Regions from separate parts of the Homo sapiens genome. Here region 2 is linked to region 1. The links are contacts of gene promoters, found by promoter capture Hi-C in human tissues and cell types (Jung and others, 2019). All regions are on one chromosome and are shown on one strand. The core of a region is centred on a gene start or on the middle of the fragment in contact, and the rest is flanking DNA. Distances in the headings are between cores, read along the strand shown.

The links. The method cuts DNA at HindIII sites, captures the fragments that hold promoters and counts their contacts. A contact is called where the count stands out against the background at its distance.
Region 2: a contact is called between a fragment that was not itself captured here and the fragment with the promoter of FBN2 in region 1, in 3 of the 25 tissues and cell types used here (H1 embryonic stem cells, mesendoderm cells and spleen).

Annotation. Positions count from the first base shown.
Region 1 is chr5:128,533,961-128,541,291 of GRCh38, reverse strand. FBN2 (fibrillin 2) reads left to right here and starts at 3,047. Exons shown (of 65, transcript NM_001999.4): 1 at 3,047-3,942; 2 at 4,808-4,890. The coding sequence starts at 3,689. RefSeq lists enhancers at 2,221-2,721, 4,447-5,377. The HindIII fragment of the contact is 18,659 bases long and covers 1-7,331 here.
Region 2 is chr5:128,591,277-128,598,607 of GRCh38, reverse strand. No RefSeq gene overlaps it. Among named protein-coding and RNA genes, the nearest start is that of FBN2, 57 kb to the right of the region's middle. The HindIII fragment of the contact is 3,618 bases long and covers 1-3,212 here.

The sequences.
Region 1 (7,331 bases), core at 1,798-4,297:
TTTGGAACATAGTTCCAAAGCCAGAACTATAAAACTAAGTTTATTTAGAAAGGTTTAGCTTCCACCATTGTTTCTTTCCTCATAGTCTCCCCTTTCTCTACAGATAACCATTTTTTATTAGATTTAGTTTATACTTCTTGTTTGTTGTTAAATCTATAACACACTCATACCCCTAAAAAGTAGCATACAATATTATACAGCTTTCATTTAAAAAATATTGTAAAAAATAGACATAACATAAAATTTACCATTTTAATCATTTTTAAGCGTGCAATTCAGTAGCATTAAGTACATGCACAATGTTGGACCACCGTCACCATTATCCATTTCTAACTTTTTCATCATCCTAGGCAGACCACTTTGTACTCACTAAACAATAACTCATCCTTCCCATTTTCCTGGAGCTCCTGGTAACCTTTATTCTACTTTGTCTCAATGAACTGCCTAGTCTATCTGTACCTTGCTTTTTTTTTATTTTAGTAGACTGTATATGCTAGAGATCACTCTCTAAGAGCATACAGAGTTTCTCTTCATTCATATTTGACAGCTGCATAATACTTCACTGAATAGATGAAGTCATACACAACAGTTGCTTGTTCATGGGAAGTTTGTGTTTCTAGTCTTTCACTATTATAAACAGTGCTGCAAAGAACAGTCAAATGTATGCACCATTTCATTTTTTTTTGTCTATGTATCTTTTATATAGGTTCCTAAAAGTGGAATTGCTGGATCAAAGGGTAAAGGCATAGGCAATTCTAGAGCATTTAGATTTAATGTGATGGACAGGAATGAACCATGAAGCCACGTAAGTATTAAACAACAGCAACAACAACAAAAAAAGCAGATACAGGATGTTTTAAATGGTATGACTAAAACACTGCTTTAAACCAGGAGATAGTTACATTAGTTAGCTCTTTTAGTTTAAATAATTTTATTATTTGAAGCGAAGTACGTGAAAATAACTGTATTGCTCTTTCTCTGGATTTTAACAAATCGGTGTCTCACATGAAATTATGTAACTCTTATCTTTTCTTCTGCTTTATGAGAATACTGTAACAAGGGGTACTACCTTCAGACCCTTTGACTACATGGAGAAATAAAGGAGGGAGTTGTGCCAATTACTGGAGAATTTTGGCTGTCAAATAGCACATCTGGGCAATTTGGGCCAGAAATACATATATATGATATATGATATATATATGATATATGATATATATGATATATGATATATACGATATATATGATATATGATATATATGATATATACGATATATGATATATACGATATATATGATATATATGATATATGATATATATGATATATATGATATATATGATATATATGATATATATGATATATGATATATATGATAGATCATATATGATCTATCATATATATCATATATCATATATCATATATATGATATATATGATCTATCATATATATGATATATCATATATGATCTATCATATATATGATATCATATATATGATATATGATATATATGATATATGATATATATCATATATATGTTATGTGTATATATGTATATATGTACGTGTATATATATACACACACACACACACACACACCCTCCTATACATATTCAACATTTTCCCCTTTAAACTAAGGTTTTCTAGGCTTGAATAAACCAGACACTGCTCTTTTGTACTGTTTCGCAAACTGTGCTTGGATGGTCTCTCCTTGTTTTCAGGAGTGTTTGATTTTTAAATTGTGATATTCCACTAAATGAGAAATGACCAGGACTTCACAGAGATTTCATGAAAGGAGGGCCACAAAGGAAGAACCCAGAGCAGGCCGGTGAGAGGCACTCTAAGAGGTACAGAGGGTTGCACCAATTGCTAGGATTTAATCAATCAGAAGGGGTCCAAGCCAGGAAGCAAGGGCATGCCCCGAGCCTCATTTACCCGCCTTGTCACCACCCTGCCCGCTAGTACATTTCAGAGTCTCTAACCCCTCCCTGCATGCAAGCCCAGGCAGAGTCCTGCCAGGTTTCACACCAGAGCACACCCCTGCACGGACTCCCCAGGACCGCGGCGCCGGCTGGCTGCCTCGGCCCCCCGCGGCCGCGTGAGCTCCCTCTTGGTGGTGGAGGGCGCATTTCAATCTGGAAACTCCCAGCCCCTAATTTGGTCCCGCAGACTGACGCCGCTCCCGGTGGGGCGGTGGGGGTAGGAGGGCAAAGGGGAGGTCTCCTCCTTCTTGGATTGAGGCTGCAACCAACAGCCCCGTGAGCCTCTATTCCTGGCTGACTGCGAATCCCCCCATCCCAGGTCAGGGGCCGGGACCCTACAGAAAGACCCGTTCTCATCCTCAACCTTGCGGCCTCTGTCCGGCGGGGAAGTTCAGCTGCGGGTCAGTTCAGCTGCGGGTCCGGCCAAGCCTGGCGCGCTTAGGCACCCTAGTCCCTGGTCCGCGGCCGGGCGAGGACGGAGGGGGAGGGGAAGGGGCTGCTGCCTCCTTTCCCAAATCCGGTCCCTAATCGCCCCATCCCCCGCCGTCTACTCGCTTTGTACAGGCAGTCAAAACAGAGCTAGCGGCCAATTGACGGGGACGGGAAGCAAAGCCGCCTAGCGCCTCGCCCCCTCCAGCCGGCCCCCCGGGCCCCTCCTCTCGGCGCCCGGACCTTGGCCCTCCCTCTCCTTTCCCACTTCTCTCTTTGCCCTAACTTCGCCCCCATCCCCCGCTCATTTCCTCTCGCACCCGGGCTCGCCAATCCCTCTTTCCAAGTCCCTCTTCCAGCCCGGCCTTCCTCTCGGGTTCGCCCCCCTTCTCCCCAATCTCCGTCCTCTTCCCTCCCTTCGCCCTCCCCCCCTTCCTTCCTCTTCCCCTCACCCAACCCTGGTTCCCCTCGTTCCTCAGTCCCGATCTCTCCCTTACTCTGTCCCCGCCCACTCTGCGCCGGCCTCTCAGTCCGGGTTGAGCCCCACGTGTGGACGGCCGCGCCCCCACTGACAGCCGCCGCCCGCCGGCCCGCCCCGCGCCCCGCCGGGCCTCTAAAACCCCCGCGCCGCGCCCTCCACCGCCGCATCTTCTCCAGCGCCCAGCCTCCCGCCCTCTCTCTTGCTGGCCGCACGCCCCGGCCCCGCGCACCTCCGCCCGGCTCCGCAGCCGCTACCCGCGCTTCGTTGCCCTGTGGGACTCCGAGCGAGCCCGGAGGGAACCCTCCTCTTCTTCTGGGGGCGACTTTTGTTTGCTTGCCTGTTTCTTTCTGGTGACTTTTGCAGCTTTCCAATATCCGTCTTCGGAGCGCACGGGAATCCGCCGAGCTCTGCGTGCAGGCCCTTTTTTCTTTTGAGGTTCACATTTTTTGAAATTTTACGCCAGGGCTTTTGTAATTTCCTCCCCCGCCCGCTGACGGTCCTGGAGTCGCTCGGGGCTTTAGGCCGGTTATGCAACGTGTACCGCTCGGGGCTGCCGGCTGCACCTCCGCCGCGCCTCGCCGCTCACTGCGCTAGACCCGGCGCCCCGCGTCTCGCTTCGCGGGCAGTCAGGGGGCCGGCGCTCTGTCGAGGTCTCCAGCTAGAGCAGGGAGCCCGAGCCCGAGGGAGTCCCCGGAGCCGACGAAGGGCTTATTAGACCCTGACTCTTTTCTGAGGCGCGCAGATTTTGTCTTTGATCACTCCCTCTCCGCGGGTCTACGGCCGCGCGCTTTCGGCGCCGGCGATGGGGAGAAGACGGAGGCTGTGTCTCCAGCTCTACTTCCTGTGGCTGGGCTGTGTGGTGCTCTGGGCGCAGGGCACGGCCGGCCAGCCTCAGCCTCCTCCGCCCAAGCCGCCCCGGCCCCAGCCGCCGCCGCAACAGGTTCGGTCCGCTACAGCAGGCTCTGAAGGCGGGTTTCTAGCGCCCGAGTATCGCGAGGAGGGTGCCGCAGTGGCCAGCCGCGTCCGCCGGCGAGGACAGCAGGACGTGCTCCGAGGGTAAGTGGGCAAGCGGCTCCGCACCTAGGGCTCCGGCTTGGGGGAGGGGGGAATCCTCAGTTTGGCGGCTTTCTGGCCCACTCCGTCCCAGACCCTTTAGCTGGAGCCTAGAGCTGCAGCCCCCTTTGCCAGAATATCCAAAGACCCCCAGGAGCGCGTCCCCCTTTTCCTTCCCAACCCCGCAGCTCAGCGGGCGGAAAGCCCTCTCTCCGGGGGTTGGGCGGCGGGTGGTTAGGGGGTCCAGGGGTGCCGATCGCAGAGCGTGTGCAGAGCTCGCGCTGCGGGAACAGGTTCTGAATGTCCGGCGGCAGGCGGGCCTGGGTCCGCCTGCTGCAGGGGCCAGAGAAGCCTGCTTGCTCCCCACGTCGGGGCCGCCGCTCGTGAGCCTTTTGTTTGAGGACGTGTGCAGGGTTCACAGCTCACCTTCTCATCGTCAACCCGAGCGCTCCACCTTGCGACGCGCTTTCCTTGACACGTCGGGGCCAAAGTAACAGTTGACCAAGGAGGAATGGATTTGGGAAGGAGGGCAAGGATTCTTTGGAACGGAATGGTCCCTTTGTTCTCTGCATCTGGAAGCTAGAATAGTAGCAAATTATATGTTTCCATGCCTCTTTTCGCCCTTTAAAAAGGCAGGCAAGGGACGACAGATGAAAGGCAGTGTTTAGACATTTCTGACCCTCCTGCATTCCAGCATCTAGCTCTTTTGCTTCCACGTCTGCCTCCCGATCTCCAATAATTTGAAGTGTAATTTTGATTTGTTTGTTGTCCTGAAATCTACTCGCTCGGGGCATTGCTTACGAAGACCGTTTATATGTTGCTGCATCCCTCTACCTATCTGTTACGTGACCGCGCTTGTCCATCACAGGCCCAACGTGTGCGGCTCCAGATTCCACTCCTACTGCTGCCCTGGATGGAAGACGCTCCCTGGAGGAAACCAGTGCATTGTCCGTGAGTGCTTGGCAGGGATCGCAGCTTGGGGCAGCGCACTCGGCCCTATCTCCGGCCGACCTCTTGCACTCAGCCATTTGGACGCATAGTTGCGTTTAAAATCAAGTGATCACATTGCACTGATAATCGGGACGCGGCCCCATTTGAATAGTGGGGAAGACTCAACCGGTTTGAGTCAGTTCAGACTTCACTTCTAGACTCTGTTGAAGGGCAATAATGATAAAGATTTCAAAGATAATTGAAAGTTTTATCTTTCTATGTCTATTAATACAAATTGGAAGAGGGGAGGAGTAGAGCAATTATCTAGATAACTCAAAACCACTTTTTCTGTAAAAAATCCAGATGAGACCACATGTTATTATGCAAATTATCAGGCTTTTAACTCTGCTTGAGGTTTGGGCCTTATGAAGATCAAGATTTCTTAGGCATTTATATAAAACCACTTTCTTATTTCTGGTTTTATATCAACAACCACATAACCTAGATACGAAAGGAGCATTCTCGCGGATTTAGTGTTGACCTAAGTTAACAAACTTTTAAAAGACAGAACTCTTACAAAGGGGCTTGAGTTTTTTTTTTTTTTTGCTTTTTGGAAGACGTTTAAATTTAGGGTTTCCAGACCCTGAACCTCAATAGTGTGCAGTAGATTTCCAAAGTATGAATCTTAGACCTTGAAAAATTCTGTATCTCTGACCTTAAAAGTTTTGATTATTTTATTCTGTTTCCAAAGTGTATAACCAGTTCTCCAAGTTCTAATTGGAGAGCTCATTAGTTATCAGCCTCACAGTCACGGACTCTGGGATGTCTTATTTCATATGCCTGTAAATTTGTGACTTGCAGTGTGACTGGCCTTCTCCTGTGTGTTTATGTAGCACAACCACATTTGTCTTGTTGGAAGGAGAGCCAGGTATCATAGACAGCACATTCATTTAGAGCCAGTCTTGACTTTAGATTGACCTCCATGTTCTCCAGGGAGAAAATAATTATGCAACTGTGAACAGAGAAAAAGGGCAAGGCACACTAACCAAGGGATAATAAGGATGTAGTGGCATTTCTAACTCTGTATTTATTGGTTTTGTGGTTTTGAGATAGATGCTTAATGTTATTTCTGGGCAGTTTTTAAAAAAGAGATGAAATCTCCAGTGTCATAAAGACTAATTTCTTCTTATTTTTTCTACCTTAACATCCCACTATTTCCAATGGCAAAAATAGGAAACAACTGTGTTATTTAAAGTGACTTATAAATATTTTGAACAAATCCTCTGATTATAATAAGCCTTTGCTTTATTTTTTAAAAGAACATGTTCTGCATTCTTTTCTCTCCAACACAGAAGTCATATGTGAGGCATTAATGGAGGGTGGGTTTACTCTTTCAGGCCAGTAGGGCATTACCATGGCTGCTTTAAACTTACACGGTTTTTTAGACTCCTGAAACAGCTAACGTCACTCATCACACACCTGCCATACTAGCTGGGAGTGACTTAGGCACGGCGGAAAGTCTGACTCACTAAATGTAATGAATGTGACTGCCATTATTGAGTTGGAGAGCAGCCGAGGAGGAGGGATTGGTTCATGGTACGTGTTGAAAATCTGTAAAGTCAGATTTTATTGGATCAGTGTGGAATGGGAATTCCAGAGAGCAGAGCCTTCCAGAATATTTGCAGTAGAAATATATGTATGGCCCCACTGATCACTGGTAGAAAATCAGCTTTGAAAATCTCAGGGTAACAGTGACTATTGTAATCTGCATTTCTGAGACTTGAAATATTTGGATGGTTATGAGCTACATTGGAATTTACACGTATCAGAAATCTATGAGAGTAAACTTTGAAATGATCTTTATATCTGTAAGAAACATTTATAACACTTGTGTCAAGACGTATCTACAAAAATATTTATTAGAAACACATCTAAAAATTCTAAGTACCTAAGATTATTAAACAGTGCACAAAATAGGGACAGTGTAATACCTTTATATTCTATTGCATGAGTCTCATTTAATGCTAATAGCCTGCATTCAATTCAGTAGTTCAATTAGTCTGACATTTAAAATGATCATATGTAGAGGTAATAAGTGAAATGAAACCGTTATAAACTCAAAATCAAGAATTTTAATTCCAGGCCTTCCTGATGATAATGAATTAAGTAAATTATTATATTTATTGGATTTATCTGTATCACACCATTTAGCAAAAGAAAGTATCTGAGACCATTTACAAAAAAGAAAATAAATAAAATACAAATAAATAAAAACCAAATATTAATTTTCTCATACATTTGTACCTCAGCATTCTTTTAATATAGAAAAATAAAAAATGGTCAACAGAATTTTAGTGTTTGACAGGCTTTATAAGGAGAAGATATTAAAAAGAAACTGTAATTCTCCAAGTTCTGGAAACCTAATGCATTTTGATTTGAGTCTCTATGTTTTGTTGGTATTG
Region 2 (7,331 bases), core at 154-2,653, 59 kb before region 1:
TTATTTTGCAGTCAGAATACTGGATTCAAAGTCTGGCTGTAACATTTACTAGCTGTGTGACTTTTGGCATTTACTAAGTTAATTGTGTTATAAAGAAAGAAAAATATCAAACATTTAGAGAAAAGATAAGACACAATCTGTGAGGCAACACTAATTCCTAAGAACGCAGGATTCGAGTGCTCTCCAGCATTATCCCCAGAATGAACTCTAGTGGGCATTTTGTCCACTTCAAGGGAAACCAAGTATTGGCACACTACACAACATTTCTCCCAGCCAAAGAATTCACTTTACTTTAGAAATAGCCAGTCTTATCATAGGACCCTCATCTAGAGTCAATCATCTTATAAAAGCGTAAAATGTGCTGGGCGCGGCGGCTCATGCCTGTAATCCCAGCACTTTGGGAGGCCGAGGCTGGCAGATCACGAGGTCAGGAGATCGAGACCATCCTGGCTAACACGGTGAAACCCCATCTCTACTAAAAATACAAAAAATTAGCTGGGCATGGTGGCACACACCAGTAGTCCCAGCTATTCGGAAGGCTGAGACAGGAGAATCACTTGAACCCAGGAGGCGGAGGTTGCAGTGAGCTGAGATCATGCCACTGCACTCCAGCCTAGGCGACAGAGTGAGACACGGTCTCAAAAAAAAAAAAAAAAAAAGAAAGAAAGAAAGAAAAAAGGGTAAAATGCACTACTGAAGATGGATTTAAGTCCTAATGTACAATAGATACTTTGAAAATTCAGGGCCTGGTTCTGTAGATGTAGTAATTGTTCTTTAACCAGCAAACAGTAAACAATTCTGTTTTTCCCAAAACCAAATTATATTAGTTGAGGAACAAAGGACTAGAAATATGGTGCTATTCACTTAATTATCTATGGTGCTATATTAAACATGGTGCTATTACCTAATTGCTAATTACATCTTGCAAAATTTTGCATTCCATCCCATCAGCTCCAGGCTCTGCTGGCATGGGGATCATAGAAAAGAGGAATGTTTTCAGCATTTGATGGAGCTTAGACTTCTATTGGACTATTTTACACTCTTCATGTTGAAGACAGGGGGAAAATGGTGTTTTAGCGTAGTTTGATTGATTCTAATTCTCAAGGAAAAACTGGATTGCTGTTATACAATGGGGGCAGGGAGGAGAATAAACAGAACACCTTCTCATATTACCATGCCCAGTGTTAAAAGTTAATCAAAGACTCTGGCAATCTATTCAGGCAGAACCACCAAAAGCTTAGATCCCTCCGGAAGAAGGTTTGAGTGATCCCACTGGGTAAAGAATCCCAGCCAGCTGAGGTGCTAGCAGAGGGCAAAGCAAACAGAAATGCTTGGTGGAGGAATAAAGTCATAAATACCAGTGACAGTCTCATGGTCACTTGCAGAAACAAAGACTAAAGCCTCTACCCAATTTTTCTTTCTTGTTGAATCATGGTTATATTTGCGCATTTTAATTAAATTCCCTTTTCTTGAGGAGGTAGGTGGTAGTAATCAACCATATAATGCGTGCTTTCAGTAGCCAAATTCTGAAGTGGGATTATGCGGAACCAAAGAAGTGGACATCCCCCAGAGATTCTGGATTTGGAGTCTGGCTCACTTCAGATTTTCTTACTTGGGGGAGGGAAAGAGTGTATTGTAAGTTATACGAAGGATCATTATATTATGTTAGATAAGGACTTTTTTAATGTAAATATGTGTAGAAGGACAAATATAGTCAGCCAAAAGGGTAAACTGTAGTGAATATTCCTTATTTGTTGGCTGCACAAACCTCTTCCTTTTGGGGAGAAATCTCCCACTGTGTGAGCCCTGGAGAGAGACACAGCCCACCTTTGCACACAAAGGCCAAAGGAAGACAAGTGTGTCCTCTCCATATCCCATGAACAGGTGCCTCGCCCCCGCCATCTGGTTCTTTTTCTCAGCTTTTGTACCTTCATCAAGTGATGCAAGGATAAAGGGACAGTTTATGCTACTGTGCTCAGCATCAGGGGTGGGTAGAGATAGTGGGCGGTTGTGGCTTTACCATCCTGGCACTGTCACCTGAGGAGGTAGGGCCAGCAGCAGTGTCTGAACCAGAGCATTTGAGGCAAGATTTTGCCTGTGTTCCCACTTCCTGACTTCCTCTTGTTTCTTACTTATATCCTTCTCTTTAAATTAAGCAAAATTGTTTTCCCTTGCTAATTAGGCAAAATTGTTTTCCTTTGCTTACAGCAAAGAGCCAAGTGAGACAAATCTATTTTCACTACTTTAGAAGAAAGTCAACCACTTTGGTGGGGCTAGCCCATCTGAAAGTAGGAAAAGAATACGTGGCTTTGTTAAAAAGCCTGTTTTGGCCTGCAGCCAGGAATGAAATATGTCAGACTCTGCCCAAGCTACCATAAGTGAACTAAAGGGAGGGGAAAAAAACATTGCAGGATTTACAACTGAGACCCGGAAAAGCCTGACCCCAAGCCTGCCAAGCACCATCTCTAGCGCACACTCTGTTTGATAATAGCGTCAACTACCTAAGCACAAGCTTTGTAAACAAAATAGGTTCATGGATCCCAAATAATCTTTTCTGCCATCGATGTCCTAAAACAAATAGATTCATTCAGTAGATGGTGCAGGGAGGTGGCCACCAATGGAATCCCCAAATTAAGCATGACTGATTAAACTGTTGATTAATTTTTGAAAATAGCACAGAAATGAGCATTACATTTAGCAAGACAATGGAGAAAAAAAATCATCAGTGTACACTGTTGTGAGTCAAGACTCAAACTCAAAACTTTACAAACTTACACATAAATATCTTTTCTTTAGAACTCACTAACTATCCATAAAAGTGGGTTTTGATACAGGGTGTACTAACTCCTCTTTATTTAGTCACTTAAAAAATATTCCCTTTCCTTTTACAATACCCATATGAAGTTTTGTCTTTTCCTCTTCCAACTTTCCATGTTCCAAATGGACTAGTGCCAAGCATGAAAGGAGAATTTCTCCTATGGAGTCAAAGGCTTCTATAGAGGTTGATAATTCAAGTTTCCTGTTAATCTAAACCCAGCACCAGAAATAAGCTTTGCTCATGGCCAGCTATCCCCTCTGAGCCAGGTTCAACTGAATTCCTTTGAAGGTGCAGTGCTTAAAGCACAGCAGCGTGCACCCAAATGTAATCTCTGTCTCAGAGGTTCCTCCTGAGCCCTGCCTTCTCCTATATGTTCTCTCTCAGTAAGAGGAAGTACGATCAGCCAATTTCTCCAAGCCAGATATACAGAATTGACCTGGATTCCTACCTTCCTGCTCCTTGCCAATCCTCTCAAAAGTTGTGCATTACTCTCCATTCCCTTGGGCAAATCGCCATCGGAAGGATTGGAGCAGTAGCCTCTCAAACCCTCTTGAAGCTTGAGCCCCTCTCCCCTCTTAGACCTGACAGATTCTGCACTGTATACCAAAACGACTTTTTAAAAACAAATCATTCTTCTGCTTAAAATTATTCAGTTGCTACCCGCTGCCTTAGGAAGAAGTCCATATACCTTAACACACCTGCAACGCCATGCAGAATTCCATCCTGTCCTGCTAATACAATCTAATTTTTGGCGATTCTTGCCTGGAGGTTCCACTTGTATTTCCCCAAAATGTTCACATTTTCTTGTGCCTGAGGCTTTGTCATAGGGAGAGGAGAGACTTTGTTTAAAGGTCTTTCTCTCCATCTGCTTATTATCCAGATTAAATCTGCACCTCCTTCCAACATTATCTCAGATGTTGCCTCCACCAGAACCTTTCTGACTGCCCAACATTAGCACTGTGTATGCAGCTCCATAAAAGCTCTATGTTGTATTTTCTTTTTTGTAGGTGTCCTCAATGCAGTTGACTGTGTGCTCTTCAGTGTCAGGTTAGTTAGTGCTCAGTAAGCAATAAATAGCTGCTGAATGAATGAATGATTTATAAACTTGGATGCTTTTTTATTATGATTTTTCCCTCTCAGTAAGTAGACATACTCTGTAGGCAATAAGAACTTCCTTGGTTTGTTTTTTAATGAGTCTCATTCCTGGTCTCTTGGCTTTCAAGTTTCATGTATGTACTAAAGCAATGTCTTAAATTTGCTTTTATATAGGCCAGAATTAGCCAAGCAAAGTGAAAAGGAAAAATTATTGTTGAATATAGAAAATAGGACTATTACATTTTGAAATTGCACTTTATCATCTGATACTAGAGAAACAATAATCTGGCCGGGCGCAGTGGCTCATACCTATAATCCTAGCACTTTGGGAGGCTGAGGCAGGTGGATCTCCTAAGGTCAGGAGTTCGAGACCAGCCTGGTCAACATGGTGAAACCCCATCTCTACCAAAAAATTAGGCCGGGCACGGTGGCTCACGCCTGTAATCCCAGCACTTTGGGAGGCCAAGGCAGGGGGATCTCCTAAGGTCAGGAGTTTGGGACGAGCCTGACCAATAGAGAAACTCCATCTCTACTAAAAATACAAAATTAGCTGGGCATGGTGGTGCCTGCCTGTAATCCTAGCTACTCAGGGGGCTGAGGCAGGAGAATTGCTCGAACCTGGGAAGCGGTGGTTGCGGTGAGCTCAGATCGCACCACTGCACTCCAGCCTGGGCAACAAGAGTGAAACTCTGTCTCAAAAAAAAAAAAAAAAAAAAAAAAAATTAGCTGGGCTTGTCCCAGCTACTCAGGAGGCTGAGGCAGAAGAATCGCTTGAATCCGGGAGGCGGAGGTTACAGTGAGCCAAGATGGTACTGTTGCACTTCCAGCCTGGGCAACAAGAGCAAAACTCTGTCTCAAAAAAAGAAAAAAGAAAAAAAAAAGAAGAAACAATAATCAACCACTTTTGAAAAGAATGAACCTTGCTCAGATCATGAGAGTTATGACATCCTGCCAAGCCCAGAGGTTATGTGTAGTAGGCTTTATACACAAACATTTAACTTTTCTGCAGGAAAATACCTTATTTTCTCTTGCTTTTATAGAAATCATAAAAGTCACATTTGTAAGCCCCTAACAGACTGGACACTTCAACCTTGCATTTTAATCCTATATACATATATATATATATTTTTTCCAGCGGAGGGCTATAGTCATATACTACCTTAAAGAGACACACACATTTGAACTAAAAATACAAAGACCTCCAAACCTGTTTTCTCTGATAATTCTTCTGCATCTTAGGTAGAAATAAAAAATTGTGGTGACTGTTATGTGTTTTCTCTGAGGTCTGGTTAGGAAAATTATTGTGCAACTGAAGAACATCAAACATTTGTGAATGCATCAACAAATTCCATTTTATAAGATGGTTACTTTTACTGACACTCTGATAACATTTCTTAGAATCAAGTATATTCATCTATATATCAAATGAGAAACTATATTTTAGAAGTGTCAACTATTCTGTATGCTTTAGCTTGACTGACGTGGAAGGGAAAGAATAATATTCATGCTAAATAAATTTACACTTAACATATATGTGATGGAAGTTAAAAGACACAATAAGATTTGGAATTCTGGACTCATTTATTAAAGAGATGTCATAAGAAGTGTTTGGAGTTCTTTCTTGGAATTGTTATAGAAATACTATAGCAACAGGAATTCTACTAATGTATATATTTGTATAACAACATAGTTTTCTCTTTTCCACATTTTGGAAACTATAAGGAAGGAAGTGAAAACTTCAAGTGTCTGGAATATTGTATATCCATATGCCTCTACTAAGTCTTACATTTTACTTTTATAAAATTTTAAACAAGATGTGTTCTTAGGAAAATCATACAATTTTTTTTTGCATTTTAACAAAAAAATATTGATGAAAGTTAGGAAATTATAAATAAAAACATTTCAATCACAATATTGCGAAGGCCTTTTTTATGGTCAAGTCTTACAGTTAGAACTTTACATTTTGAAAAAAGGTGTTTTAAAACTCCATTCATCTTTCCCTGAGTGTTAATATGAAGTAAGAGCAGATCCTGAAAAGAAGTTTCCTAAAGTATTTTTATTATTTATATTTCATTTGAGACTAAAAGGAAAGTGATATTCCCCATGAGCCAATGAGCAATGGTCAAAGTGTTCAATGGTAAATGAGAAATCCATTAGTTGTTAATATTGGGGTTCCCGAATTCTAATTTTTGCCTTATCTCTCTGTTATGATCTTATTATTCAATCCTGGTAAGGGGTTTTGATTGAAAAAGACTGTTATGAAATCGTCAAGACGTAGTAAGCAGGAAGTGAAGATATGCTATGATTTCCTTTGTGCCCTACATTGTAATTCCTTTATTATAATACCAGATTGGTATCGAATGTGAGAGTGCAGTTGCATCTGATGTTTATGCATTTTGATACCATCAGTGCATTAAAAGACACTGTGGTTTGCCCCATCTGGGGGAAGTTAAAAATTCACACAGAAGTTTCATATTACACATCTTAGGTTGATCACTCTTAGGGGACTCAGTGAGTGCTGAAGTTTTTATAAAAGATCTGAGATCCCTGGAGTTTAGTATAAAACTAGTTTTCAAAGAATACTGCCACATTTGGCCTATTGAACAAAACACTGTTAAAAACAATGACAATCATTCAGATTTAATTGTTCTGGCTATCTTAACTGGAAAACAAATAATAGTTAATTCTCAGTTTCAGGTATTGTCTCAACAAATAAATGACAGTTGTTAATCTTGTGTGAAGTACTCTGAAATAATATCATATGACAGTTTTCAATGCCCACACAGAGTGACAAAATTATCAGGCCAAAGATAAGATACAAAGTCTTTATAGTGTTTGTTTTACAACAGTGTAAAACTGGTGTTTTATAGGTTGGTGCAAAAGTAATTGCGGTTTGGGCATTAAAGGTAATGGCCAAACCGCAATTATTTTTGCACCAACCTAATACACATGTAGTAGAATATTTTCACTGTCAGGAAAATGAATCCTTTAACCTTGTCTTTGAATATCTGATACATTGATGGCATTTCTCCCACTCTTATGTAGCATTAGAGAAAAACATACAGAAACTATGATTTTGCATGCTGCATTGGTAAATGCTATTTACTCTAAGATCTATGTAAGGCGTTTACATTTTACTTTCAGTACTGCAACTACTTCCTCCCTCCACCTCACTATTTTCTCTGATTACTCCAGAAAAAACAGTGTTTATTCAAATTCCATCATTACAGATCCATCTTAACACCTAGAGCAAACATCATTTTATCTACTAAATAGCTCTGGAGAGATGTAAAGATATGCAAAATGTACTTATGGCAGGCAGTGTGGTACAGCAGACAGAGCACAGATAGACCTTATGAGATTTGACTTCAATTCTAGTCAAGTTCATAATTTCTTATTTGTGTGGGAAAGAAGAGTT